Regions from separate parts of the Homo sapiens genome. Here regions 1, 2, 3, 4 and 5 are each linked to region 6. The links are contacts of gene promoters, found by promoter capture Hi-C in blood cells and fetal thymus (Javierre and others, 2016). All regions are on one chromosome and are shown on one strand. The core of a region is centred on a gene start or on the middle of the fragment in contact, and the rest is flanking DNA. Distances in the headings are between cores, read along the strand shown. Region 1 overlaps EVI5 (ecotropic viral integration site 5). Region 2 overlaps EVI5 (ecotropic viral integration site 5). Region 3 overlaps EPHX4 (epoxide hydrolase 4). Region 4 overlaps BRDT (bromodomain testis associated). Region 5 overlaps EVI5 (ecotropic viral integration site 5). Region 6 holds the start of GLMN (glomulin, FKBP associated protein).

Evidence for each region. The method cuts DNA at HindIII sites, captures the fragments that hold promoters and counts their contacts. A CHiCAGO score of 5 or more calls a contact.
Region 1: a fragment that was not itself captured here is called in contact with the fragment with the promoter of GLMN in region 6 in 12 of 17 cell types (naive CD4 T cells, naive CD8 T cells, activated CD4 T cells and 9 more); the score reaches 20.7 in naive CD4 T cells.
Region 2: a contact is called between a fragment that was not itself captured here and the fragment with the promoter of GLMN in region 6, in 5 of 17 cell types (naive CD4 T cells, activated CD4 T cells, total CD8 T cells and 2 more). The highest score is 8.0, in naive CD4 T cells.
Region 3: a contact is called between a fragment that was not itself captured here and the fragment with the promoter of GLMN in region 6, in 2 of 17 cell types (fetal thymus and endothelial precursors). The highest score is 7.1, in fetal thymus.
Region 4: a contact is called between a fragment that was not itself captured here and the fragment with the promoter of GLMN in region 6, in 1 of 17 cell types (megakaryocytes). The highest score is 5.8, in megakaryocytes.
Region 5: a contact is called between a fragment that was not itself captured here and the fragment with the promoter of GLMN in region 6, in 1 of 17 cell types (total CD8 T cells). The highest score is 5.0, in total CD8 T cells.

The regions. Positions count from the first base shown.
Region 1 is chr1:92,600,753-92,604,781 of GRCh38, forward strand. The region is part of intron 18 of EVI5 (ecotropic viral integration site 5); the gene reads right to left. Among named protein-coding and RNA genes, the nearest start is that of GFI1, 120 kb to the left of the region's middle. The HindIII fragment of the contact is 975 bases long and covers 1,974-2,948 here.
Region 2 is chr1:92,577,323-92,581,449 of GRCh38, forward strand. The region is part of intron 18 of EVI5 (ecotropic viral integration site 5); the gene reads right to left. It also overlaps the pseudogene LOC107985727. Among named protein-coding and RNA genes, the nearest start is that of GFI1, 92 kb to the left of the region's middle. The HindIII fragment of the contact is 445 bases long and covers 2,610-3,054 here.
Region 3 is chr1:92,030,523-92,034,608 of GRCh38, forward strand. EPHX4 (epoxide hydrolase 4) reads left to right here. Exons shown (of 7, transcript NM_173567.5): 2 at 1,983-2,068. Among named protein-coding and RNA genes, the nearest start is that of EPHX4, 2.6 kb to the left of the region's middle. The HindIII fragment of the contact is 1,642 bases long and covers 430-2,071 here.
Region 4 is chr1:92,012,040-92,016,311 of GRCh38, forward strand. It overlaps BRDT (bromodomain testis associated), which reads left to right. Exons shown (of 19, transcript NM_207189.4): 19 at 2,167-2,382. The coding sequence ends at 2,235. Among named protein-coding and RNA genes, the nearest start is that of EPHX4, 16 kb to the right of the region's middle. The HindIII fragment of the contact is 8,801 bases long and covers 1-4,272 here.
Region 5 is chr1:92,552,796-92,557,400 of GRCh38, forward strand. All of the region lies in intron 19 of EVI5 (ecotropic viral integration site 5), which reads right to left. Among named protein-coding and RNA genes, the nearest start is that of GFI1, 68 kb to the left of the region's middle. The HindIII fragment of the contact is 3,128 bases long and covers 1,143-4,270 here.
Region 6 is chr1:92,296,760-92,301,228 of GRCh38, forward strand. It overlaps GLMN (glomulin, FKBP associated protein), which reads right to left and starts at 2,228. Exons shown (of 19, transcript NM_053274.3): 1 at 2,166-2,228; 2 at 1,202-1,270; 3 at 645-770. The coding sequence starts at 1,240. RPAP2 (RNA polymerase II associated protein 2) reads left to right here and starts at 2,300. Exons shown (of 13, transcript NM_024813.3): 1 at 2,300-2,387; 2 at 3,435-3,480. The coding sequence starts at 2,315. RefSeq lists enhancers at 1,326-2,222, 1,794-2,263, 2,484-2,713 and a silencer at 1,725-2,062. The HindIII fragment of the contact is 769 bases long and covers 1,752-2,520 here.

The DNA.
Region 1 (4,029 bases), core at 1,211-3,710, 300 kb after region 6:
AGTATGCTGCTGGCTGCCCGCTCACCTCCTGCTGTGCGGCCCGGTTCCTAACAGGCCATGGACTGATACCTGTCTGTGGCCTGGGGGTTGGGAAACCCTGGTAAAGATGGTTCCTGAAGCCATGTAAGTGAGACCCTTCATTTGGGTATAGTTTGTAAAAGCCAAAACCTCGGATTTCAGAGGAATACACACATCCACGACTGATAAAGATGACTGTAAACAACAGTTAAACAAGAAAAAAGAGAGTCAAAAGTAAGTGGTGGTAGCAAAGTTAGGGGAGGTGAGAATGCAAGGAGGACGAAATGGTCAAAAACAAATGCAATAAGCATGAGCAGGCAAATACTGAAAAAATAGCAACAAATTTGGCAATTAGGATTCCAGTGACCACTTTATCAAGAGCCAGTTGATGATAATATACCCCTACTATAATAACAGTAACAATTCTATCACCTCACACCTGTTAGAATGGCCATTATCAAAAAGATGAAAGACAGTAAGTGCTGGAGAGGATGTGGTGAAAAGGGAACTCTTACACACTGTGGGTAGAAATGTAAATCCTCAAAAAATCAAAAACAGATGATATGATCTAACAATTCCACTACTGGGTATATATCCAAAGGAAATTAAATCAGTATGTTGAAAAGATATCTGCACTCCCGTGTTCACTGCATTATTCACAATAGCCAAGACATGCAACCAACCTAAATGTCCATCAGTAGATGAATGAATAAAGAAAAAGTGGTTTACATATACACAATGGAATATTATTCAATCTTAAAAAGGAAGGAAATTCTGTCATTCACAACAACATGAATGAGCCTGGAGAACCTTAAGTGAAATTGAAATAAGCTAGGCTCAGAAAGACAAACACTACATGATCTCACATGTGGGATACAAAAAGTTGAACTCAAAAGTACAGAGTAGAATGGTGGTTACCAGGGGCTAGATGCGGGGTTAGGGGTAAAGGATTGGAAGATGTTAAAAAAAATTCCATGAATTTTCTATTTTTCAAAAATAATGTAACACATTACATTTCATTTTAAACAAAAATCCTGCATACCAGGTTCTTCGTTTTAATAAATATTTCAGAATCAACAAAAAGAGTGATTTAAATTTTACTATTTTGTGATTAAGATGTATAGAAATATGGCAAATTCTTAGGATTTTCTTGATGTTTAGAAAAGTACAGACTAATGCTAAAATCACATACGATAGCATGATTTAAACAACTGATTACAAATATATTATGCAGTTGGCTCATGTCTGAGGTTTTTCTGAATATGTGCACTTTATGGGGACTACTACCAGCAGAACATAAAGGATACCTTTTTATAAACATACAAATCATAATGTGTTGTGGTTACTTTTGATCCAGATCAAAAAATGAAGTTATAATATAATATGTAAGTTTGGAAATTAATTACATTTGAAATTGAAATTTAAAGACAAAAGGAAATTTCAGGTGGGAAGAAAATTCTAGATGTTACAGCAAAGACTATTGTGACTTGGAGTACAATATAATTAAAGACTTTGAAAGACATAAGATTTTAAACATAGTATTTTGTCCATAGGGAAAACTTACTACTTTTATCATATTATACAAGAAGTAAGGCATAAGAAGTGACAAAACACATTTATTTTTATTAAAAAAATTTTTTTTTGAGACAAGGTCTCATTCTGTCACTCAGATTGGAGTGCAGTGGCTTGATCATAGCTCCTTGTAATATGGAACTCCTACTTCTGGCCTCAAGGGATCATTCCACCTTAGCCTTCCAAGTAGCCAGAGCTACAGGAGTGTACTATCATGCCCTCAGCTAATTTTTAAAAATTGTTTTGTAGAGACAGGGTCTTATTCTATTGCCCAGGCCGGTCTTGAACTCCTGGCCTCCAGCAATCCCCTGACCTTGGCCTCTCAAAGCACTGGGATTACAGGCATGAGTTACTGTGCCCTGTAAAAACATATTTATTTTTAAAGCTTTGAATTTTCTTTTGAAGATAGTTTTGATAATATAGAAATATGATAAATTTTCACTAAAAAATGGACTTGGAGCACAGTCAACACCACCAAAAAAAACAAAACAAAACAAAACCCAGGTACGTTGATTCAGCAAAATTAAAAACTTTTGTGATAAAAACACTATCAACAAAGAAAAGGCAACAAACATAATGGGAGAAAATATTTGCAAACCATATATATGATAAGAAAGTGATACTGAGAATATATAAATAACTCCTATAACTCAACAACAAAAACAACAAACAACCTGGTTCAATTAAGCAAAGGACCTGAATAGCCATTTCTCCAAAGAAGATATATAAATGCGAAATAAGCACATGAAAGTATGCCCAACATAGCTCATCATTAGGGAAATGCAAATCAAAACCACAATGAGATACCACTTCACACCCATTAGGATGGTACTTATAAAAACAACAACAGAAAATTAACAAGTGTTGGTGCAAATGCGGAAAAAATGAAATCCTCATGCATTGCTGGTAGAAATGTAAAATGGTGTAGGTTCTGTGGAAAATGGTATGGCAATTTCTTAAAAAAATTAAACAATTACTATATGATCCAGCAATTCCACTTCTACGTACTCAAAAGAAGTTAAAGCAGGGACCTGAACAGAAATTTGTACACCTGTATTCATAGCAGCATTATTCACAATAGCTCAAACATGGAAGCACCCTAAATGTCCATCAATGAATGAACAGATAAAAAATGTGGTATATACATACAATGGAATATTATTCAGCTTTAAAAATGAAGAAAATTTGTAAATATACTATAACATTATAAAAAATGGTTTTTCTTTCAATAATAAATTAACTTACTGTAAGTTTATTTATAAACTTCCAATTTTTTAAACTTTTTGACTCTTTTATAACATTTAGCTTAGCAAACATTGTACAGGTGTATAAAATTTTTTTTATATCTTTATTCTATAAGCTTTTTTCTATTTTTAATTTTAATTTTTAATAAATATATTTTTTGAAACAGGGTCTTACTCTGTGGCCCAGGCTGGAGTGCAGTGCTGTGATCATGGCTTACTGCAGCCTTGACCTCCCAGGCTCAGGCAACCCACCCACCTCAGCCTCCTAAGTAACCGCGACTGGGACTATAGGTGCACCACCAGGTCCAACTAATTTTATTTTGTATTTTTTGTAGAGAGGGAGTCTCACTTTGTTTGTCAGGTTGGTTTCAAACTCTTGGGCTCAAGATCTGCCTGCCTCAGCCTCCCAAAGTGCTGAGATTACAGGCATGAGTCATTACACCTGATGAACAAAAAATTTTTTAAGTTAAAAAAAAATTAAGGCTGGGCGCAGTGGCTCATGCTTGTAATCCCAGCACTGTGGAAGGCAGAGGTGGGCGGATCACTTAAGCCCAGGAGTTCGAAACCAGCCTGGCCAGCAAAGGGAGACCTCATTGCTACTAAATAAATAAATAAATAAATAAATAAGCTGGGTGTGGTCATGTGTGCCTGTAGTCCCAGGTACTCGGGAAGCTGATGAGGACTGCTTGAGCCAGGAGTTGGAGTCTGCAGTGAGCTATGACTGTGCCACTAAACTCCGGTCTGGGCAACAGAGTGAGATCCTGCCTCAAAAAAAAAAAAAATTAAAACATTTGTGTTAAAAACTAAGATATTAGCTTAGGCCTACACAGGGTCAGCACCACCAATATCACTATCTTCAACCTCCACATCTTGTCCCACTGGAAGGTCTTCAGGGACAATAACACACATGAAGCTGTCATCTCCTATGAAAACAATGCCTTCTGGAAAACCTCCTGAAGGATCTGAGACTGTCTTAGAGTTAACTCTTGTTTTGTATAAGTAGAATTAGACTCTAAAATAGCAATATTAGTATAGCAAAACAACAAATAGTATAGCAAACATATGAACCAGTAACATAGTCATTTATTATCAAGTATTATGTGCTATACACAACTGTACGTGCTACACTTTTATAAGAGTGGCAGTGCAGTGGGTTTGTTTATACCAGCCTCATCACAAACACATGAGTAATGTG
Region 2 (4,127 bases), core at 1,582-4,081, 280 kb after region 6:
TCTGATTTGAAATATAAATTTAAGGGATTAGCTCACACCACTTGTAGGGACTGGCAGCCTGGAAGTTTTTGTACGGCTTGCCGGCAGGGCAGAAGTCCAGGAAATCCAGGTCAGACTTGATGCTGCAGGGTAGCATCAGTAGGGCGGGCCAGCAGGCTGTCTTGAGGAAAGCTGGTTAGTGAATGCTTCATAAGTTTTCATCTGAACCAAAGCCGGTTCCTAAGATGCCTTCTTCAAACTGTTGGGATCACTTTAAATACACAACAAAGCCTTTCAGCCTGTTCTATCATTTGTCTCTTTGCAAAAAATATTTTATAGAGTAGGTGGATGACTTTAAATTCTGGGAAAGCATAGGGTTAGTCACAAAGAAACCTCTAACAAAGGGAGGATCTGCCATAAAAGGAAAGCATCAAATATCCACTCATTAAGCTTCATTTTGCTCATGAGACATTGCTCACACAGCTGGAAAATTCTGTAGCTGAAGAAAATGTGATTCATCTTCTAGACAGATATTTTAATATCTTCATATTCCACGGCATGGGATTATCTCAGTGAAAGTTTTAGACCCATTTTTGCTTTCTGGCTTTGTTGTTGTTTTTTTGTTTGTTTTGGATACCATAAACTCTAAACAGATGCTTTTGTTTAGTGCAAGGTAGCTTTTGTCTTTTCCCTGTAAGGAAAGGCGCTATGGTGCTATATTTCATTTACTAGTGATAAACACTGTCATGCTAGATTAAGTTAAGATTCTGACAAGTCTTTTGGGTGGTGGTGCACTGCATACCATGACTTTTAAAGAATTAGTTTGAAAAGCCCTTTCTGGATCCATGTGAACGCTATTTCATCTTTCTGTCATTCTACTAATCCACATTGTTATTTCTCTAGATGCTCTTCTCCCAGCTTGATGACTATTATGGTCTAGAACTATTACCCCCATATGGTGGATTCTTGTCACCATTTCTTTCTTTTAGCAAAACTAAAGTGTGGAGAAATTCTGGAATGAAAAATTAATACTAAATCCTCTTTTTTTTGGCATGGCCTCTTTACCTGTGTGTATCCTCATAGGTGGCTTGAACTGAACATAGCCTGGGCCTGGCCCCAAAAGCACTAGAGATTTAAAATGGACGGCCGGGCGCCTGTAATCTCAGCACTATGGGAGGCTGAGGCGGGCGGATTACGAGGTCAGGAGATCGAGACCATCCTGGCTAACACGGTGAAACCCCGTATCTACTAAACAAAATACAAAAAATTAGCTGGGCGTGGTGGCGGGTGCCTGTAGTCCCAGCTACTCGGGAGGCTGAGGCAGGAGAATGGCGTGAACCCGGAAGGCAGAGCTTCCAGTGAGCTGAGATCGCGCCACTGCACTCCAGCCTGGGAGACAGAGCAAGACTCTGTCTAAAAAAAAAAAAAAAAGAAAAGAAAATGGACTCAGTGGTTAAGTAACTTATCAAGGACCACATGACTAGCCAGGAAAAAGCAAGGAGTAGAAGCCAGGTTTCACTCTTAGTCCCATTCTCTTTATATCATTATAAATGGCTCCAATATAAACCATGGTTTTGTTTGTTTGTTTTTAAATAGAGACCAAGTCTTGCTACATTGCCCAGGTTGGTCTCAAACTCTTGGGCTCAAGTGATCCTCCTGCCTCAGTCTCGCAAAGTGCTGGTATTACAGGTGTGAGTCATCATACCCAGCCTAAACCTAAAATCAGGATTTTGATTTGAGACAGATCATAGCAGGACATGTGCTAGAATTGTTTTTCTAAAAATGCAGTACTTATTTTATGTTATTCATGTATCTTTTCTTGAGCCCTCTGTAAAGAGTGATATCAAGTCAAAGTTGGGAAGCAAAGCTGTCAAAGTTTCTCGTGTATCTTCTGTAGCATTGGATGATCAGATGGCTCCTAAATATTCATCTTATTAATAAACCATTCCCTTCCCTAGTCTGTCTGAATGGCCTATGAAGAGTTTATTTTGCCAAAAAATATTTAAATCAACTGATCAGACTATTAGTGTATTCAAATTTAATAAGAGAGCCAATGGAAGGAGGCCAGTGTGGAAAACCAGATTATAATTACTTACGAATCCCTTCTCATATGAAGTCAAGGGAGACCAAGGTACAAAAAATAAAACAAAGATAAATCAAAGACAGCCTATAAAAAATATCAATGGTATTTTATATATTTCACGGAAATAATATACTATAAAATTAATTTCCTTTTTCAGCAATTTTAATGTGATGGTTTGGTTTTACTGTGACTAATACAGTTATTAATAGCCATTTTTCCCCTCTGTATACATTTCTCCATTACTATTTATTACTTTTAGCTTATAAATGGGAGTTCACCTTTTGTATAGAAAGATCTAAATGTTTGAGGGGAAAAAACTAGAAAAAATAGTTTTAACTAAAAAACAAAAGAAAGATATGAGCTCTCAAACTCCTGGGTTCAAGTGATCCACCCGTCTTGGCCTCCCAAAGTGCTGAGATTACAGGTGTGAGCCCCCGTGCCCAACCTAAATTATTTAACTTAAACGGTCGCTTGTGATTAATAAACAAAGTAGAAATGTATTATAGTTTGTACTATCTATTTTACAAATGATAATACTGAATCTTCAAGCTTCTCTTTAACCTTTCATTGTGAATAAACAATGACTCAGGGAGAAGGAACATTTAGAATAATAATCATATATGTATTATTAAAGTAGAAACAATGAAACCTTCAGAATGACAATGTATTTTTGTTGGAATTTTGTATCTATCATTATCGCTATACACTTATCTGATCAAGCTAAAGAAAACCCATGAGGCTAATGCTTGAACAAGAATGGCATTTAAAATTAATTTATATGTAAACATTTTTTTCAGCAAAATTCTAGAAGTTTGTCCATTTTAGAGTCATTCTTTCCTGTTTAATCCAAAAATCAAATTCCACCCAGCAAGGACTGCTATTCCAATAATGTTGTAATCTTTTGCAATTGTCTGCTAGTGATCCTGATTCATATATTGCATTCATAACAACCAAAAATAAAAGAATATTTAATTAACACTAGGCATTCTAAAAGCTTCAAAGCTTAAGTAATAAATTTTAAAAACCAATCAATGATAGTTAAAGTAAGGGGTTCTCAATTTTACATATTTTGTTAAGCTTTATTGTACAGACTAAAATTTTGGTTTTGTAGGCTCAGTATTACTAAGTTGCTTATTGTATTTAGTAGTTTCTTGTATCACCTCTTGTAAGTATCCAATTCGTTCATCACCAAAGTCATTAGGTTTTTCTTCTGAGAGGGAGGTGCCAAAACATGCTTTTTCAGTTGAATTTTGTGTTTTATCTTGCTTGCCATAACATTGCTGCATACACCTTCCATTCCTGCAAATACACTGAGCCTTGTCAGAACCAACAGTCTTATGTCTCCTAAATTAGTCCTTCATGCACTGGTTGCCCAGGGCTTTGATGTCTGGGGGCAGAACCAGGTGCAGCTGCAAGATATGTCTATACAAGGCCTGGACACAGCACTCTGTGGGTGGACTACCAGCCACTTGTTCAAAGGGCTATCTTATCTTTCAATCTGTTAATTTTATTGAATTAATGTTAAGTTGTTTTACAGTGTGAAGCAACTGTAATTCTTCTTATCCTTGAATTACCTTTCTTCTTGGTTGGGATTTTTGGTTTTGTGAATGGTATTTCTTTCTGCTAAATAATAATCAATAATAATTAATAAATAATATAAACTAAATTGTTGTGCTATTTCTTTTCACCATGTTCATGGCTAGGTGATTGTCCACATATTCCAAGTACGCTAATGATATGGATGACACTAACTATCTCTCCACCATATTTGAGATCTATTTCCTTTGCCTTCCAAGCTCAAGCTTGTTCTCACTTTTCTATAGTCTCAGGAAAATGCACAGTGAAAGAAAAAACCTAGCTAAACAAGGGCTCTTCTTACTCTTCTGAGATTTTGTTAAATATCTTGTACTACCTAGTTGGGGGAATATATCACAAAACCTGAGTTTTAGGATTCAGATCATTTCCCATATTCAGTGTGTTGCCCTAGGGCCTTCACTTAAGAGTGAGGTGTCACTTTTCTGATCTCTTTCACTTGGTTATCCTTTGCAGAAGTTTCTACCACTCC
Region 3 (4,086 bases), core at 1-2,500, 270 kb before region 6:
CACTCGGTCTTTGCAGGCACCTTGATTGGTTTCTGAATGTGGAACTTCTCTAATCAGGGGCCTCTTATATTACTGCCCCCCGGCGCCACAACAACCCAGAATAAACCTGCTCTTTTTCCTACTGCAAGGGGAAGCTGTCTCCTGTCACCCTTTTGCCCTTTAGAGCTCAGATCAGCTGTAGAGAATTGTTCCTCGTGGCATCCTAATGTCTCAGGAGGCTGTTCTTGCCCAATTTTAGAGATAATAAGAGTAAACAGTCAGTCTTTGGGAGTCATGAGTTTATTATGATCACAGACGACTTAGGTTGCATGAAACAATAAGTAAATTGTGTGTGTTGTGGGGAGGAATGCATACTTATGAAGTCAGGGACCAAAGAAAGGAATGGAATAAAAGGTAAATCCAGCCATGCCTGCAGACGCTAATTGTTCAAGCTTCCTCACAGCCCACAAATATTCTGTTTCCTGAGGCTCCAGGTGGTGAAGGGAAATAGTTCCCGTGATACACCCTGCAGTCTGACTCACAGGCCTTTCAAACCCAGCCTCATAAGAGGGGATGTTTATGTCACCAAGTCCTTATTTCCTGTTAGGAGCTAAATTGCCCCGCAGCTGAAGTTCAGAAGGGCAAGAGAACTTCTTTCTTGCCTGGGGTCGACATGAGAATTAAATAGGTTAATATTTATAAAAACAAACACGAAAAACTTAGAACAATGCCTGATGCATAGTCAGTGCAATAAAGTATCTGTTAATTAAATCCATTGCAGTGCCCATAACATTTAATCCTCCAAGACTCACCACCAATAAAAAAAGTTATTGAACCTCTAGGAAGCCATCGTGCAGCTGAGGGTAAAGTCAGATTTGTTATCTCTGTTCAACCTGAGGGGTAAAAGTAGTATAAGAACCATCTGGAATTCCATAAAACACTTTTCCCCTCGCTCTGGCCGCCTAAAGAGCTTCCCCAGAGACAGAGAACCGAGTGGAAAGAGCATTGTCCTGGGAGTTAGGACAAGATGGAGATTCTGGTCACAGCCCTGCTCTCAACCATTTTATGACTCATGTTACCATCTTTGGGCCTCATCTTCTGAATCTGCAAAATGATTCTTTCACATCTGAAAACTCAGTTGCTTGAGTTGCCTGCTATAAAAACCCAATGTCTGTGTTTAGCTTTTGGTTCTTTTTGTTTCCTAGCTTGCTTGCTTTCAGAGATTTTTATTCCTGCTGTTCCCTCTACTTTCCTCAATTCAGCCTGCTTAGTATTTGCTTGAATTCCTGACTCATTCCCATGTTTTTTTAATTTTCCTTGGGTTTTCTTGTCTCCTACATGCAGAGTGAAGTCTTGAGCACTCAGGGCATTCTCTTATTAGAAACGCACACTGACATGACATGAGCAGGCAGCAAGGGGAACAGAACATGCAACACTCAAAATAATAATGTGGGAAGGAGAGACCTAAAAATAAGAGAAGGAGGTGTGAATTATATAACTGATGGCACAGCTCTTGACGGGCAAGCTGAGAAAAGTAGATGACTAGGATGTAAACATGGCAGAAATATAAATTCAGATTAGAATTATTTACATGTCCTGCAGCATTTGAGGGAGATGAAATGTGACACATCAGTAAGATGAAAGTTACAAATGGTAAGATGAAAGTTACAAATTGTGACATTGCTTCAGAAGCTCATAATATATAAATTGACTGTACTAGAACAAGAAGAGAAGGTACTGTCAAGGGAGTGTTGACAAAGTGAATCTGTCAATTTACCCTATTAATAGGTCATGGGGTTTGCTTTTCTTTTTGAAAATTAATAAAAGTAAATATATTTCTTGATGTTAAAAATAAGGCAACTGAGTGTCATGAAGATATTGTAAATACACAAATGTTTTAAAATAAGGCAAGTTACTATTTTTTTAATGAAATGGAAATGCTAAATATATTGCTTTGTCAATCAACACAAACATCACTAAAATTCCATGCCCTCTACTTTCAGGATTCAGGGTTAAGATTTCACTATGTTGCTGCTGGAGAAAGAGGCAAACCACTTATGCTGCTGCTTCATGGATTTCCAGAATTCTGGTAAGCTTACCAACTAACATTTATTGTTACATTAAAACTTGGCTTATTTTCTCAGTTCATTTTGTGCTGCTGTAACAGAATATCACAGTCTGGGTAACTTAAAATGAACATAAATGATTTTCTCAGAGTTCTGGAGGCTGGGAAGTTCAGGATCAAGGTGCCAACATCTGACAAGGGCCTCCTTGCTGCAACATCACATGGCAGAGGAGGAAGGGCAAAGAAGCAAAAGGGGGCCGAAATTGCCCTTTCATAGTGGCATTATTTCCATCCATGAGGGCAGAGCCTGCATGACCTAACCACCTCTTAAAGGTCCCACCTCTTAATACTGTTACAATGGCAATTTTTGAGACAAGGTCTTACTCTGTCACCCAGGCTGGGGCACAGTGGCATGATCACAGCTCACTGCAGCTTTGAACTTCTGGGTTTAAGCAGTCTTCCCACCTCAGCCTACCAAGTAGCTGGGACTACAGGCATCTACCACCACACCTAGCTTTTTTTTTTTTTTTTGGAGGTGGGATCTTGCTATATTGCCTAGGCTGGTCTTGAAAGCCTGAGATCAAGCAATCCTCCCACCTTGGCCTCCTAAAGTGCTGGGATTACAGATGTAAGCCACCACGCCAAGCCTCTTGTAATGACTTTTAACAGACCCTACTTTTTGATCATGTGCCCAGAGTTAATATTCCTAAATGTTCCTGAATCACAGGTCTTTTTCCTCCTAAAAAGACCTACCTGCTACCAATTTAAATTTATATATTTTTTTGAGGATTAAAAGAAGTATCTTTTAATGTTTCAAATTTCTGAAATAGTAACAAAACAGTTTGTATAGAGTATCTACTATAGACAAAATACAACACTGGGTAGGGAAAGGAGATTTTAAACAAACCAAAGACGTGGAGTGATTGTTATTAGGAAGATTTTGGTGAGGCTGGGGTGAGGAGAAGGCAGAGTAGAGCACTTATGGAAACTGAAAATGAACTATTTCCTATGCACAGAGCAATAGGCTTATATGAATGCAGGATAATTTAAGTACCTAAATATTTCTCATTAGGAAGAAAATCTGGAGCCCCAAATATGTAATTATTAGTTACTATCTTCGTTCATTTTTGTTGCTAACAAAATACCTGAGACTGGGTAATTTATAAAGAATAGAAATTTATTTCTCACCGTTCTGGAGACTGGGAAATCCAAGATCAAGGCACCAGTAGGTTCAGAGTCTGGTGACATCCATGTCTGTGTGTGTCCAACATGGTGCCTTGTTGATGTGTCTTCTGGAGGCAAATAAACTTCATCATATGAATTTTGGGAGAACATATTCAGACCATAGCAGTTACCTAAGGGGAAGTGTTCTGTTCTCTATTGACCCCACTGGGCCAAATAAGTACAGATGAAAGCAACACATGTTTAAACTTTTTTTTTTTTTTTTTTTTTAATGAACATCTTTAAAAGAGGTGGTACATATCAGGAGGCCGAGGCGGGTGGATCACGAGGTCGGGAGATTGAAACCATCCTGGCTAACACGGTGAAACCCTGTCTCTACTAAAAATACAAAAAAAAAAAAAATTAGCTGTGCTTGGTGGCAGGCGCCTGTACTCCCAGCTACTCGGGAGGCTGAGGCAGGAGAATGGTGTGAACCCAGGAGGCGGAGCTTGCAGTGAGCCGAGCTCGTGCCACTGCACTCCAGCCTGGGCAACAGAGCGAGATTCCGTCTCAAAAAAAAAAAAAAAAAAAAAGGGTGGTACATATCATGGCAGTAAAAGAAAACCAGTTTTTATAGCACAGGGCTATAAGAAATAGTTCATAAACTAAATAGGTCAAGAAATTGATGTTTTTAAAAGCCCAGTTCCCTTAGTTGACTCAAAGGTGGAATATCTGGTATATTTTGAAAGGTCTAGGACAATATCCTGTCCCCAAATTCTCCCTTACTATCTTATAATTCCTAGAATTCCAGCATTACAGATTTCTTACCTCCTTTAGAGTCTTAAAGATTTTATGTCACTCAAAATCCTGATTTAAAATGC
Region 4 (4,272 bases), core at 1,254-3,753, 280 kb before region 6:
GGCTCACGCCTATAATCTTAACACTTTGAGAGGCCGAGGCAGGCAGATAACTGGAAGTTAGGAGTTCGAGACCAACATGGTGAAACCCCATCTCTACTAAAAATACAAAAATTAGCCAGCCATGGTGGCGCACCTGTAATCCCAGCTACTTAGGAGGCTGAGGCAGAAGAATCATTTGAATCGGGAGGCAGAGGTTACAGTGAGCCGAGATCACGCCACTGCACTCCAGCCTGGGCAACAAGAGCAAAACTCCATCTAGAAAAAAAAAAAAAAAATCATGGTATCTAAGGTTAATTGGTACAGAGAATACCAGTTCTCTATCGATAATTGTTCCACATGCACAGATTTTAGTCAAGATGTAAGAGAATCTAAAATAAGCCAATACACACAACCTTTAAATAAAAACAGGTTTCATTACATATTCTACAAATTTTGCAGTATGTCTGGATACTTATAGCAGTATCACATGATATTTAAACTAGGACAACGTATCCAATGCCTATATTGGAGGCTTAGAATAGAACTTAAAGGAAAAATCTGTGCTAGACATTTGGCATCCTAGAAACTGGGTGTTAAGAATGTAGTCTGGGGCCGGGTGCAATGGCTCATGCCTGTAATCCCAACACTTTGGGAGGCCAAGGCAGGTGGATCACTTGAGGTCAGGAGTTCGAGACCAGCCTGGCCAACATAGTGAAACCCCATCTCTACTAAAACTACAAGATTAGTTGGGCTTGGTGGTACGCACCTGTAGCCCCAGCTACTTGGGAGGCTAAGATATGAGAATCACCTGAGCCTGCGAGGCAGAGGTTGCAGTGAGCTGAGGTCATGCCACTGCACTCCAGCCTGGGCGACAGATTGAGACTCTGTCACAAGAAAAAAAAAAAAGAATGTAGTTCATGCCAGTTGCAGCAGCTTGCGCCTTGTAATCCCAGCACTTTGGGAGGCTGAGGCAGGTGGATCACTTGAGGTCAGGAGTTCGACGCCAGCCTGGCCAATGTGGCAAAATTGTCTCTACTAAAAATGCAAAAATTACCTGGGCATGGCGGTGCACATCTGTAATCCCAGCTCCTTGGGAGGCTGAGGAAAGAGAATCACTTGAACCCAGGAGGCGGAGGTTGCAGTGAGCTGAGATCACGCCACTGCACTCCAGCCTGGGTGACAAAACGACACAATGTTTCAAAAAAAAAAAAAAAGATTAAAAAAAATGTAGTCTAGATTAAGATTTAAGAAGTATTTTTTTGTCTCTAAGGCAGATTTAAAGAAATTTATATGGTTTGTAAGAGTCAGACATACCTTTCAAATACTTTCAGTAGGTAAATCACAATTCCAAATATTTTCCCACATAGCTAATGAGAATGCTAATTCCCATTCAAGAAGCCAACCAACTGATTGCAAATTGGTGCTTTTACCTACCACTCTGGTCTGTTGCTGTTTATTGATTTATTTTTTAAAAATAATTTTGTGAACTTTAATATTTGGTGTCATCTCAGATGCTAAAGAATATCTATAAGGGCAGTTAGAAAAGGCTTCAGAATATAGTTGACATTTGTTTCCTTTGTCTTAATTAGCTTTTTCTCTACTTTGGCTTATTTTTTAAACAGCTTTTTCGTGATTAATATGGCATTTTGCTGAATGTTACATGTAATCTGATTCTTCATAAATGCCTATACATAGAATAGACTAGGTTACACAGTTAGTAAGTGGCAGAATCAAGGAAAGCCCATAGTTTTAGCATTACATATTATAGTTATCTCACATAACAAAGATATTGGTTCATTCAGAAAGTAATTTTGTGTGTCTGGCATTATGCTGGGTTTAGAAGTAAGACAGTGTGCTCTCAGCGTTCATGTTCTTATTCATACCCACTCTGTCAACATTGAACTTTCTCTTTTACTTGTAGGGAGGGGTCAAACTTATTCTTAGTGTTCTTGTAGGTTTTGTTTTTTATTTATTACATGAACAATATATTAACAAATCAGGTAATATTTGAACAGAAATAATTATGTACAAATTTATTGTTCAACCTGAGAAAATAAAAATTAAAAAATTATTGAATAGTTTTCTTTTGTATGATTTGTTCCTAAATGTTGCATAATCATTATTGTATAGTTGTAGTAAAGACATACATTTTTAAAGTAATATTAAAATTTTCTGCTTTTTCTACAGATGGTGGGTACCATTGATATGACCCTTCAAAGTGACATTATGACAATGTTTGAAAACAACTTTGATTAAAACTCAGTTTTTAAATTAACCATCAACTTAAAATGAATGGTAAAAGATCAAAATGCATATGGTAAAATGATTGCTTTCAGATAACAAGATACCAATCTTATATTGTATTTTGACTGCTCTAAAATGATTAAACAGTTTTCACTTACATTTTTAATAGCTATATGCTTATTTTTTAAACGACATAATTCAAAGGAAATTTAATAATTTTGGATCCCTAAAAATTGGACAAATTCCCAGATATTCGTTCATTCTATAAATAATTGTCTATATATTATAGGCCCTGTACTAAGCAATGAAAATCCAAAAGATAGCTCCTGCTTGTTTAAAAATGAAGAGTATGTTTTCTAATTCAATAAGTGAAAAATAATGAAGAATATATGAAAGTGTATAAAAAACATAGTTCCTGTTGAGTTTTTAACTTTTAAAACAAATATTCGTCTGCCTTCAAAAATATTTAGATTCTAACAAATAATACTTGGTTTCACTGAATGTCAGATTTCATAAGATTCTCAGCTGGTTCTATATTAAAAATTTATATTGAAATGTAGTTTTAAAGAAATATTGGCTGGAACTGCCAGTTGTGGTGGCTCATAACTATAATCCCAGCACTTTGGGAGACCAAGGTGGGCAGATTTCTTGAGCTCAGGAATTTGGGCCTGGGAAACAGGGTGAAACCTTGTCTCTACAAAAAATACAAAAAATCAGCTGGGTGTGGTGGTGCGCACCCGTGGTCCCAGCTACTTGGGAAGCTGAGGTGGGAAGATCACTTGAGCCCAGGAGGCAGAGGTTGCAGTGAGCTGAAATCACACCACTGCACTTCAGCCTGGGTGATAGAGTGAGACCCCTGCCTCTACAAAAAAAAAAAAACAAAAAAACAAATGAGGCATGGTGGCGCACTCCATGTAGTCCCAGCTACATAGAGGGCTGAAGCAGGAGGCTCATTTGAGCCCACGAGGTCAAGGCTGCAGTGAGCTGTGTTTGTGCCACTTCACTCCAGCCTAAGCAACAGAATGAGACCCTGTCTCAAAAAAAGAAAAAAAAAAAACAAGAAATATTGCCGATGGTTTGAAAGATGTTGAATTTGAGTCAAAATAACTAAAATATTTATTTGTAATATTTAATAGTGAATATTATGTATGTAAGTTTCTATATAAACTTATGAGATTTCTTAATATGCATATGTGATAGTAATGAATGTTTAAAATATTTAAACAACAATAAGACTTATTTAAATATTCTGTAAAATATTTCTCTTTTGTTATTTTCAAGTTGCAATTATGTGTAAATCATGTGTATCAGCTTAATGTATTTTAAAATTTTGAACTCTGGAAGTGTAACATGATTCAGGCAGTGTTCTGATACCATCTAAAGTAAAAATTCAAAGTGTATGTTTATTATAGAGAAAGAGAAAAAGTTATCTTGACTTCACTTATTTTTATAATTAATATGATAAATTTTTGACATATCTTTAAATTATCAGGCATGTGAAAAACATGATTAAGTAGTAACTAAATGGTGATGTGACCTTCATGACACAGCCAGAATTAAAGTGACAGGGTGGCTCACGCCTGTAACCCCAGCACTTTGGGAGGCTGAGACAGGCAGATTGCTTGAGCTCAGGAATTCAAGACCAGCCTGGGTAACATGTTGAGACTCTGTCTCTACAAAAATAATACAAAAATTAGTGGGGCATGGTGGCACGCACCTGTAGTCTCAGCTACTGGCAGTTGGTGGGCGGGGGGGGTGGGTCTCTTGAGCCTGGGAGGTCAAGACTGCAGTGAGCCAAGATCATGCCACTGCACTCCAGCCTGGGCAATGAGAGTGAGACCCTGTCTAAATAAATACATAAATAAATAAAGTGATAGTGTATTCTTATCCAACTATACCTCTTTTAATTAAGAAATCAGTTTGTGCTAAACAGTACAGATTGTCCTATGATTATATATATATATAAAATTTTATTTACATAATATAAAAGATTATAGAGAGCTATGTTTGGTTATTCTGTTTAACTGACTTGGCACTTAACCTCTTCTT
Region 5 (4,605 bases), core at 1,457-3,956, 260 kb after region 6:
ACATTTTTAAGTTCGAATATTTTTCCTCACCTGATTTTTAATTGCGATTTTTTTCTTTTCTAGGTGGTTTCCTTATCTAGCATCTTACCCCTCTCCTACTAGATCTTTGTGTTCATGTTTTCATTAATTAACCCCAGTTTCTTAATGAAATTACTATCATGAGAGGCACATGTTTTCATTAACAAGTTAAAATTTTTTTTTTTACCCATTGCAGGAATTACATACACAGATGCATAAAATGGGTAGAACACCAATTATACTTTATGAATATAACATAAAACTGAAAAGTGGTCTGAAAGTCTTGAATAAAGTAAGGTATCCTGTGTGGGATTATTTATTTATTTATTTATTTTGAGACAGGGTTTCGCTCTGTCACCCAGGCTGGAACGCAGTGGTACAATCTCGGCTCACTGCAACCTCTGCCTCCCAGGCTCAAGAGATCTTCCCATCTCAGCCTCCCAAGTAGCTGGAACTATAGGGGCATGCCACCACACCTGGCCAATTTTTTTTTTTTTTTTTTTTTTTGAGATGGAGTCTCACTCTGCCACCCAGGCTGGAGTGCAGTGGCACAATCTCGGCTCGCTGCAACCTCTGCCTCCTGGGTTCAAGCGATTCTCCTGCCTCAGCCTCTCCAGTAGCTGGGATTACAGGCGTGCACCACCACGCCCGGCTAATTTTTGTATTTTTAGTAGAGACAGGCTTTCTCCATGTTGGTCAGGCTGTTCTCGAACTCCTGATCTTGTGATCCCTCTGCCTCGGCCTCCCAAAGTGCTGGGATTACAGGCGTGAGCCACCGTGCCCAGCCAATTTTTGTATTTTTTTGGTAGAGGGTTTTGCCATATTGCCCAAGTTGGTCTCAAACTCCTGGGCTCATGCAATCAGCCAACCTCGGTCTCACATAGTGGTGGAATCACAGGTGTGAGCCACCACGCCCTGCCCCTGTATGTGATTATTACAGTTTTTCCCAGACTACAGTATGTTATACATTCTTTTAAATGGCAAGAAATACATGGAGAAACATATTGCCTTGGAGATTTAAAAAAATTAATCTGGAAACATTGGTGGAAGTTTGCCACCAGTTAAACTTCAAACTCTTCAAACAGAATGCTTTTAACAGCAAAGCTAATTTGTGTCTTTGAATAAGCTTGTATTTCCTAAATAAGAGGCATATATGAATTGGATTGACTTTTTGTCAAGTTCTGTGTTTCTCAAAACATCAAACATGGCTAGGAAAACTGCCTGTTTTCAGAAAGTCATCAAATATTTAAAAGCTACAATGCTAGTAGCACCAAATGGAAATTGAAGCAGAATCTGAATGTCAAGTTGGACAAATTCTGCAGTCTTAGATAGAATAGAAGTGCAGAAGCTGCTACAGAAAGAAAAATAAAGAATATGAGCTATGAGTAGATTTTTACTAACTAGATGTTAGGTTCTCATCTGAGAGAAGCAATTCAATTTAATTCAATTAAACAAATGCTTATAGAACTCCTACTATGTTTAATATGTCGCCATTAAATGGGCCAGCAGGATCATGGTAGGGCAGTGGGATGCAGCAGATCAGAAGTTAGAATGCCCAGGCATGAGTTCCATCTCAGCTACGAACTAGCTTTGTAACTTTGGGTAAGTCCCTTAACCAGGACCTCAGCTTCCTCATTTATCAAATGAAAAACAAGATAAATTTTAAGAACACTTCTGGTTTAAAAAATATGATTCTTAAATCTCAGCTTTAAGTATTTTACATAGCGCTATTGTTCCAAATATAAAAATCTGCACAATAATTTCTAAAATGGACTTTAAATAAGATAAACTGCTTATCCAAGATAAAACAGAACATATAAGAGGAAAAGGAGTAATAGCTACTCATTTAAAGAAGTCATTAAGAATGAGTTTTTGCTGGGCACAGTAGTTGATGCCTGTAATCCCAGCACTTTCAGAGGCCAAGACAGGGAGATCCCTTGAGCCCAGGAGTTCCAGACCAGCCTTGGCAACACAGTGAGACCCTGTCTCTACAAAAACAAAAACAAAAACAAACCAACCAACCCAGGTGCAGTCTCGCACACCTGTAGTCCCAGCTACTCAGGAGGCTGAGGTCGGAGGATCACTTGAGCCCAGCAGGTTGAGGCTGCAGTGAGTGGTGATGGCACCACTGCACTCCAGCTGGGCCACAGAGCAAGACCTTGTCTCCAGAAAAAAGAAAGAAAGAAAGAAAAGAATGGGTTTTTAAAATATAAGTGGAGGCTGTAAGATTAAAAAGCAGTGTATGCATTTGATGGGCTTAAAGCAATTTTCACAGAATGGCAAATACAATCTTTCATTATCTACATGGGACCTTCTGGGTAGGGGGATAAAAACCCTATTTACTTGGTTGTATGAGATCCTGAAACTTCTGCATGGTACTTTACACTGCTCTAATTAGAGAAAGAACAAATTTAAGGGAATAATTTCTTTTATTAAGAAGCTGCCACACTGGGAAAACTAATACTTTCTATTATAAAAATATTCAGGATAGCTTGTAACTCCATACACTGAAGTTCTTCTTAAACATTAAAATTTTCTTAAAAGTTAAAATTCACTCACCAGTACAAATAGATAGCACTGTTTTTAATTCTTATTTCTGTTTCTAGAAGTAGACTATTGTTATCAATGAAGTTTTACAGTAAGAATGTTAATTCTCTTCTTGAGTACCACTCTGTAAACTAGGTAACATACTTGGAACTTTGTGTTACCTAAAAGGAAATAAAGACTGGTAGAAATAGAAATAAGAATAAGCATGGCCGGGCGTGGTGGCTCATGCTTGTAATCCTAGCACTTTGGGAGGCCGAGGGGCACAGACTGCCTGAGCTCAGGAGTTCAAGACCAGCCTGGGCAACACGGTGAAACCCTGTGTCTGCTAAGATACAAAAAATTAACCAGGTGTGGCGGCATGTGCCTGTAGTCCCAGCTACTTAGGAGGCTGAGGCAGGAGAATCACTCGAACCCAGGAGGTGGAGGTTGCAGTGAGCCGAGACTGTGCCACTGCAATCCAACCTGGGTGACAGAGTGAAACTCGTCTCAAAAAAAAAAAAAAAAAAAGGAATAAGCATGAAGTTAAATAAACCAAAAAACAGTATCATTCAGTATGAAATAAAGAAAAAAAATAGCTGCCAACAACTACAGAACCAGATGACTAAGTTCTTTTCTACCTTTAGTATTTTAGTTTTAATCCCTAGATGAAGAGCAATGCTGAATGAGCCTTAAAAAGATCTTATTAACCACTTTTTTCTTTCTTTCTTTTTTTTTTTTTTCTGAGATGAAGTCTTGTTCTGTCCCCCAGCCTGGAGTGCAGTGGTGTGATCTTGGCTCACTGCAACCTCCGCCTCCTGGGTTCAAGCGATTCTCCTGCCACAGCCTCCCCAGTAGCTGAGATTACAGGTGCACACCACCATGCCTGGCTAATTTTTGTATTTTTAGTAGAGACGGGGTTTCACCATGTTGGCCAGCCTGGGCTCAAACTCCTGACCTTGTGATTCACCCGCCTCGGCTTCCCAAAGTGTTGGGATTACAGGCGTGAGCCACTGCTTTAAATAGAAAAATACAAGCATAAGGAAAAAAAAATCCAAAGAAATATAAGAGGACATATAGTAAGTTCTCACTTAAAGTTTTCCATAGGTTCTTGGAAACTGTCATTTTAAGTAAGATGACATATAAAGAAACCAAACTTTTCCCCTCATCATCATAAACAAAACGACATTATTCATGGACATGTTATATGTCTTTCACTCTGAAGTCTCAGTTTCCAAGAACCTACTGACAATGTTAAGTGAGGACTTAATGTATTGTCATCTGATTGTTAAAGTTCCTTATTTCAAAAATTCCAGTTTAGTAACAAAATGAGTACATGTATTAAAAACTACATTAAGAATATCTAGGACATTAAAAATACTTTTTGATATATATTTAAATCCATAGCTCAGGTTTATATAAACAGATATCAGAATTTAAAAACTTAAGGAATATTCACATAATTTTTTTCTTACCCTTTTATTTTTTTTTTAGAGTTAGGGTCTCACTGTCACCTAGGCTGGAGTGCAGTGGCATGATCTTAGCTCACTGCAACCTCAAACTCCTGGGTTCAGAGCAAGCCTCCTGCCTCAGTCTCCCAAGTAACCAGAACTACAAGGCCCACACTACCATTCCTGTCTATATAAACATTTTCTAAGTCAAACTTCAGTAAAGGCTTTATTTAGATTTCTTTTTATTTACTCAAATTCCTAATCACCTACTTAAAAAAAGCTTCCTGTGACACATAATTTAACTTAGAAAAATTGCCTTCCCAACAAAAAAGACAGGATGACAGAAGACCTTCTGGGTAGTAGAAACCAATACAATGATTATTCCTACAAAGTAAGTTGGTTTTATCTACCTGAGTTTTATTTTGTTTATAGCATACCAAAATAGTTCTTTTTTTTTTCCAGCTTTATCTTGAAATAGCTTACATTTCTCTTTTTTCTTTTTCTTTTTTTGTTTTTTTGAGACGGAGTCTCTGTGGCCCAGGCTGGAGTGCAGTGGTGAGATCTTGGCTCACTGCAACCTCCGCCTCCCAGGTTTAAGCCATTCTCGTGCTTC
Region 6 (4,469 bases), core at 978-3,477:
GTAACTGGATGATACTGGCTAGTATAATGACATATCGTTTTCCTCCTGTTCTGATTCTATGCACATAAAATACTGTTTTAATTAAAATTTGGTTTTCCATACACATTTGGCTGGAGGAGAATGGGCTGATCACCCAAAATGAATATTTAGCCTGCTTGATATGTATATTTCTCATTGTAAATTAATGACTCAAACACCATTTTTGGACTCCCTAAACCAGAAGTAATTCTGTTTCTTCTAAAAACTCTTTACTTCAACTATAGCAATTATTTATTTTGCCTCATTATTGTTAGTTGTTTACATGTTTATGTTTGACCAGATGGTAAAAACCTTCAAGTATATGACTGTTTCTTTTCTTTTTTTTTTTTTTTTTTCTGAGACAGGGTCTTACTCTGTTGCCCAGGCTGGTCTCAAACTCCTGGGCTCAAGTGATCTGCCTGCCTTGGCCTCCCATAACGCTGTGATTACGAACGTGAGCCACTGCGCCTGGCCTAAATATTTCTAATTCTTTTTTTGTTTTCAGTTCCCTACTGTGAAAATTTAAGTAGATTCTTAAATGTTTGATGGATAAATGACTGGATGAATAGCATCATGTGATTATTCTCTTCCCAAGACTGAAAAGTAAACACCAAGATTGTACGCACCTTATTCTTTTCATTTTGAATAATTTCTAATAGCTGGTCTGTGTGCCCTTCTTCTATGCATCTTTGCCCAGCTAACTGAAATAGGCCAAAATCCTCTTCTTTAAAGTCTTGCTCTTCTAGGATTTGCTGGCAAAAAAAAAAAAAACCCAAAAAACAAACAAAAAAAAGTATATGCAAATAAAAATTAAATACAATAACTTCTTGATTTATCTATGAAAAAAGGAAATCTGTTTAAATTCTAGATAAATGTAACGTAAATAACACACGTATCAAAATTAGGATTACCCTAATAAATACTTTAATAAGTGACCTTGAAATCTACTGTACCAGTGAAATCTATGAAAAGGATCAGGATTAAAATGTAAAAGGTTATTTAGATAAGTATGTCACCTGGAGAAATAATCCAATCTGCCTCCCCCACTCATGCTCTTTACAGGTCAAAAAAAGCAAGGATTAAAGAAGATAAACAATTTGAGTGACCACAAATATAATTAAAAACAATCTGTGCCCTTCCCATATTTTGAAAGGTATTTAATTTTACAAAAATTAATACTTACACATCTCTTTATTATAGACTGAAGTTCCTCTACAGCCATTCTTATTTCTCCTAGTTTCGATGCTAAAATCTACAAATACAAAACACACTGTTAACTATCCGTGATATTACACTTAAGTATTCAAAAGTTATGTTTCAGTGTGATAAATTATTAGTAAATACAATAAAGAAAATGGAAAGTTTTTGTTGTTGTGTTTTTTGGTCCAATAGCATGCTAGGAGAAAATGTAAAGTTTTAAAGTTGAAATGTTATTACTGAATCTTAGTATGTTTGCCTAAGAAAATAAAGTGTTTTTTTAGAAGCCCTTATTGCATGTTTTAAGTTTTCTAGGAGCATAGTTTTGAAAGCTACTTTGAAGGAAAAAAAAACAAAAAAAACCTCTCGAGCACTCCCAAGAGGCGAGGCATATACGAACTAAAGGGCTTTTAAAAAGCAAAGCACTTCTTTTCTGAAAAAAAATTTCCAAAAGGTGGACCTGAAATCAAAATTCTAATCATCAGGGGATTTTTCATTTTTAATGTCTCACCTCACAAAAATTGGGGTGCAACACAAGCTTATCTATAGGGGGTGAAGATTCAGATGCCCTCCATTCCATTTCTCTCTAGGAGTTGCAGTCCCCAAAGTGATCAATCCAGCTAGTGAAATCACTGTATCACACGGAGACAAGACAACGGCGGCCTTCAGGAGGAGACCATCGCTTCTCCTGGCGGCAAGGCTCGGCCCCAAGCCCTCAGTAGGGGCGCGAGTCAGCCCGGTCCTCAGGGCAGCGCGCTGGAAGGCGAGTGAACACCCCAGCGCGCGTGCGGGCTGCATCAGAGGAAGCCATGTCTTCCGATTCCTGCTCGCCTAGGTGGGCAGGCTCCACCACCTCGCGTGGCCTAGTCGGCCCGCAGCACCAAGTCCGCCGCGGCTCACGGCCAACCGCGAGCCCTGGCCACCCTGAACCTCTCCACAACTCCACTTACCGGCCAGAACCCTCGCCTCTCCCAGCCGCCGCCACCTCCTCCGGCGTCTTAGCCCGCTCTTCTGGCCCCGCCCCGCGCTACGCGTAGGGAGGCGGGGCCTCGGGGCGAGACGCCGGAGCGTGTCCCCGTCCGGCAGACTACTCTCCCCCATGGCGGACTTCGCTGGGCCGTCTTCTGCCGGCCGCAAGGCCGGGGCTCCCCGCTGCTCTCGAAAAGCCGCAGGTAGGAGCAAGGATCTCTTCCCACTTTTGGACCCTGAAAGCTGGGCCCCGATCTCGAGTTATAGACCGCAGCGCGCGGGCGCTCCTGAAAGGCTGCTTCAGGGGAGGGGTTCTCCCAGGTAGAGTAGGCCGAAAGCTTCCCACCGCCGTCCGCACCTCCTGGGAAAGATTTCCTGGCCGCCCCTCACCCCTTTACGCCAGTGTTCCAAGATTTCCCTCACGCGGACTGTGGCCCCAGCCTCTGAGACAAAGGACAGTGGAGGCCCCGGGAACCCAGGCCTGGGGTCCCCGGGTTTCGGGGCAAGTGACTAGGGCAGCGTTGGCAGCTGGCCTTGAACCTAGGACCGGTCCTCCTTTCCAGATTGCTTGGGTGCCCAGTTCTTTAAGGTGCCGGACTCCCCTCTTCCCCCAGAGAGGACGTTTGGCAGACGGAGAGAGGTTTCCCCTAAAAGTACCCAGATCTCAGATTTTCAGGAGTGGTTAATTAAGCAACTATGATACAGAAGAAAATTCAATCCCCAAAGAGATACATTTTAACCAAGAAAAATTAGACAGTAATCAATTTGCAAAAACAAATTGCTCTCCCTTCCTATTTCATTTTGATTTACACACGATTGGACATAAAATATGTGGAAAAGAAGAAAAGGTGGTCTACAGTTTGTTATTTGTGTAGGAATCTATCTTGTACCTAATGTGTTTGTGTAGACCTGACCTACTGCCACCATGTGTAGCTTAACTGCGGGGATGCATTTTGAGAAATAAGTTGTTAGTCGATTTCATCCTTGTGTGACCATCATCGAGTGCACTTACACAAACCTAGATGGTACAGCCTACTTACACACTAGGCTATATGGTACAGCCTATTGCTCCCAGGCTACAAACCTGCACAGCATGTTACTGTACTAAGTACTGTAGGCAACTGTATATCTAAACATAGAAAAGGTACAGTAAAAATACAGTATTTTAATCTTATGAGACCGCTGTCTGTATGCTGTCCGTCGTTTACGGAAATGTCATTATGTAGCACATGACTGTATTTTTATTGTAGGTACTAAACAGACAAGTACTTTGAAACAAGAAGATGCTTCTAAAAGGTATGACAGCTACATGGACAACTACATTGGCATATCTACTTATCTTGTATTACTTGTACCAATTTTAAAACAATAATGGTTACCTTTTTTTTTTTAGAGAAAATTATCATGAGAGGGAAGGGAAAGATCTGGGAAGGCCTATAAATTCTCACATAGACTGTTACATTCCTCTACTCCAGGCTTTAAGAAAACCAAACTAAGCACTCAGACTGCTAGTGAAGGAATGAGTGTCTGTAGAAGGTGTTTGTTTTTCACCGCTTCAGGTACACTCTCCTTTTATTGCTTTATATGCCAGAGACTCACTCTCCAAGTTTCGCTGTCACTCCAAGAAACCTTTTCTGTTCTTTGTTACATCAAGTCCAGATTTTCATTAAAAAGCTGTCTTGTACTAGTTCTGGTTCTAAAAAGGCAAGATATTACCACATATCACACAGAGTTTCTAGAAGAGGAGTAGAATGTGAAGGGGATTAAAAGCATATGTAGCTATGATTTTTATTTTGTGAAGACTCACTAATCTTATATTGGCTTTGGTCTTAATTTACTCATTCTTTCAAAAATTATTTATTGAGTATAAGATATGTCGGACCTGTGTTAGGCTCTGAAGATATGGTGAACAGAATAGACACAGTTCTTGCCTAGTGGAACAGAGGAATAAATAATAATAAATTAATTAGTTAATTAACATAAACAAATACATAATTACAAATTGTGATAAGCACTATGAAGGAAAAGACTGTGATGTTACGAGAAGGAATAACGAAGTCTAATTTAGTTGGAGGTGGGTGGCAGGGAGGTTGGCTGTGAGTTTTCAGCGAAAGCCTTATGCTGAGACCTGCGTGCTAAGTAGACATTAACCATACAAAGAGTATATAAAGACTTATGTATGTGCAGTGCAAAAAGTAGCTTGTTTCCTTTTTGAAAAGTATTGGATCAAAAGTAACAGCATTAGAAAACAGAAATTTGGCCGGATGTGGTGGCTTATGCCGGTG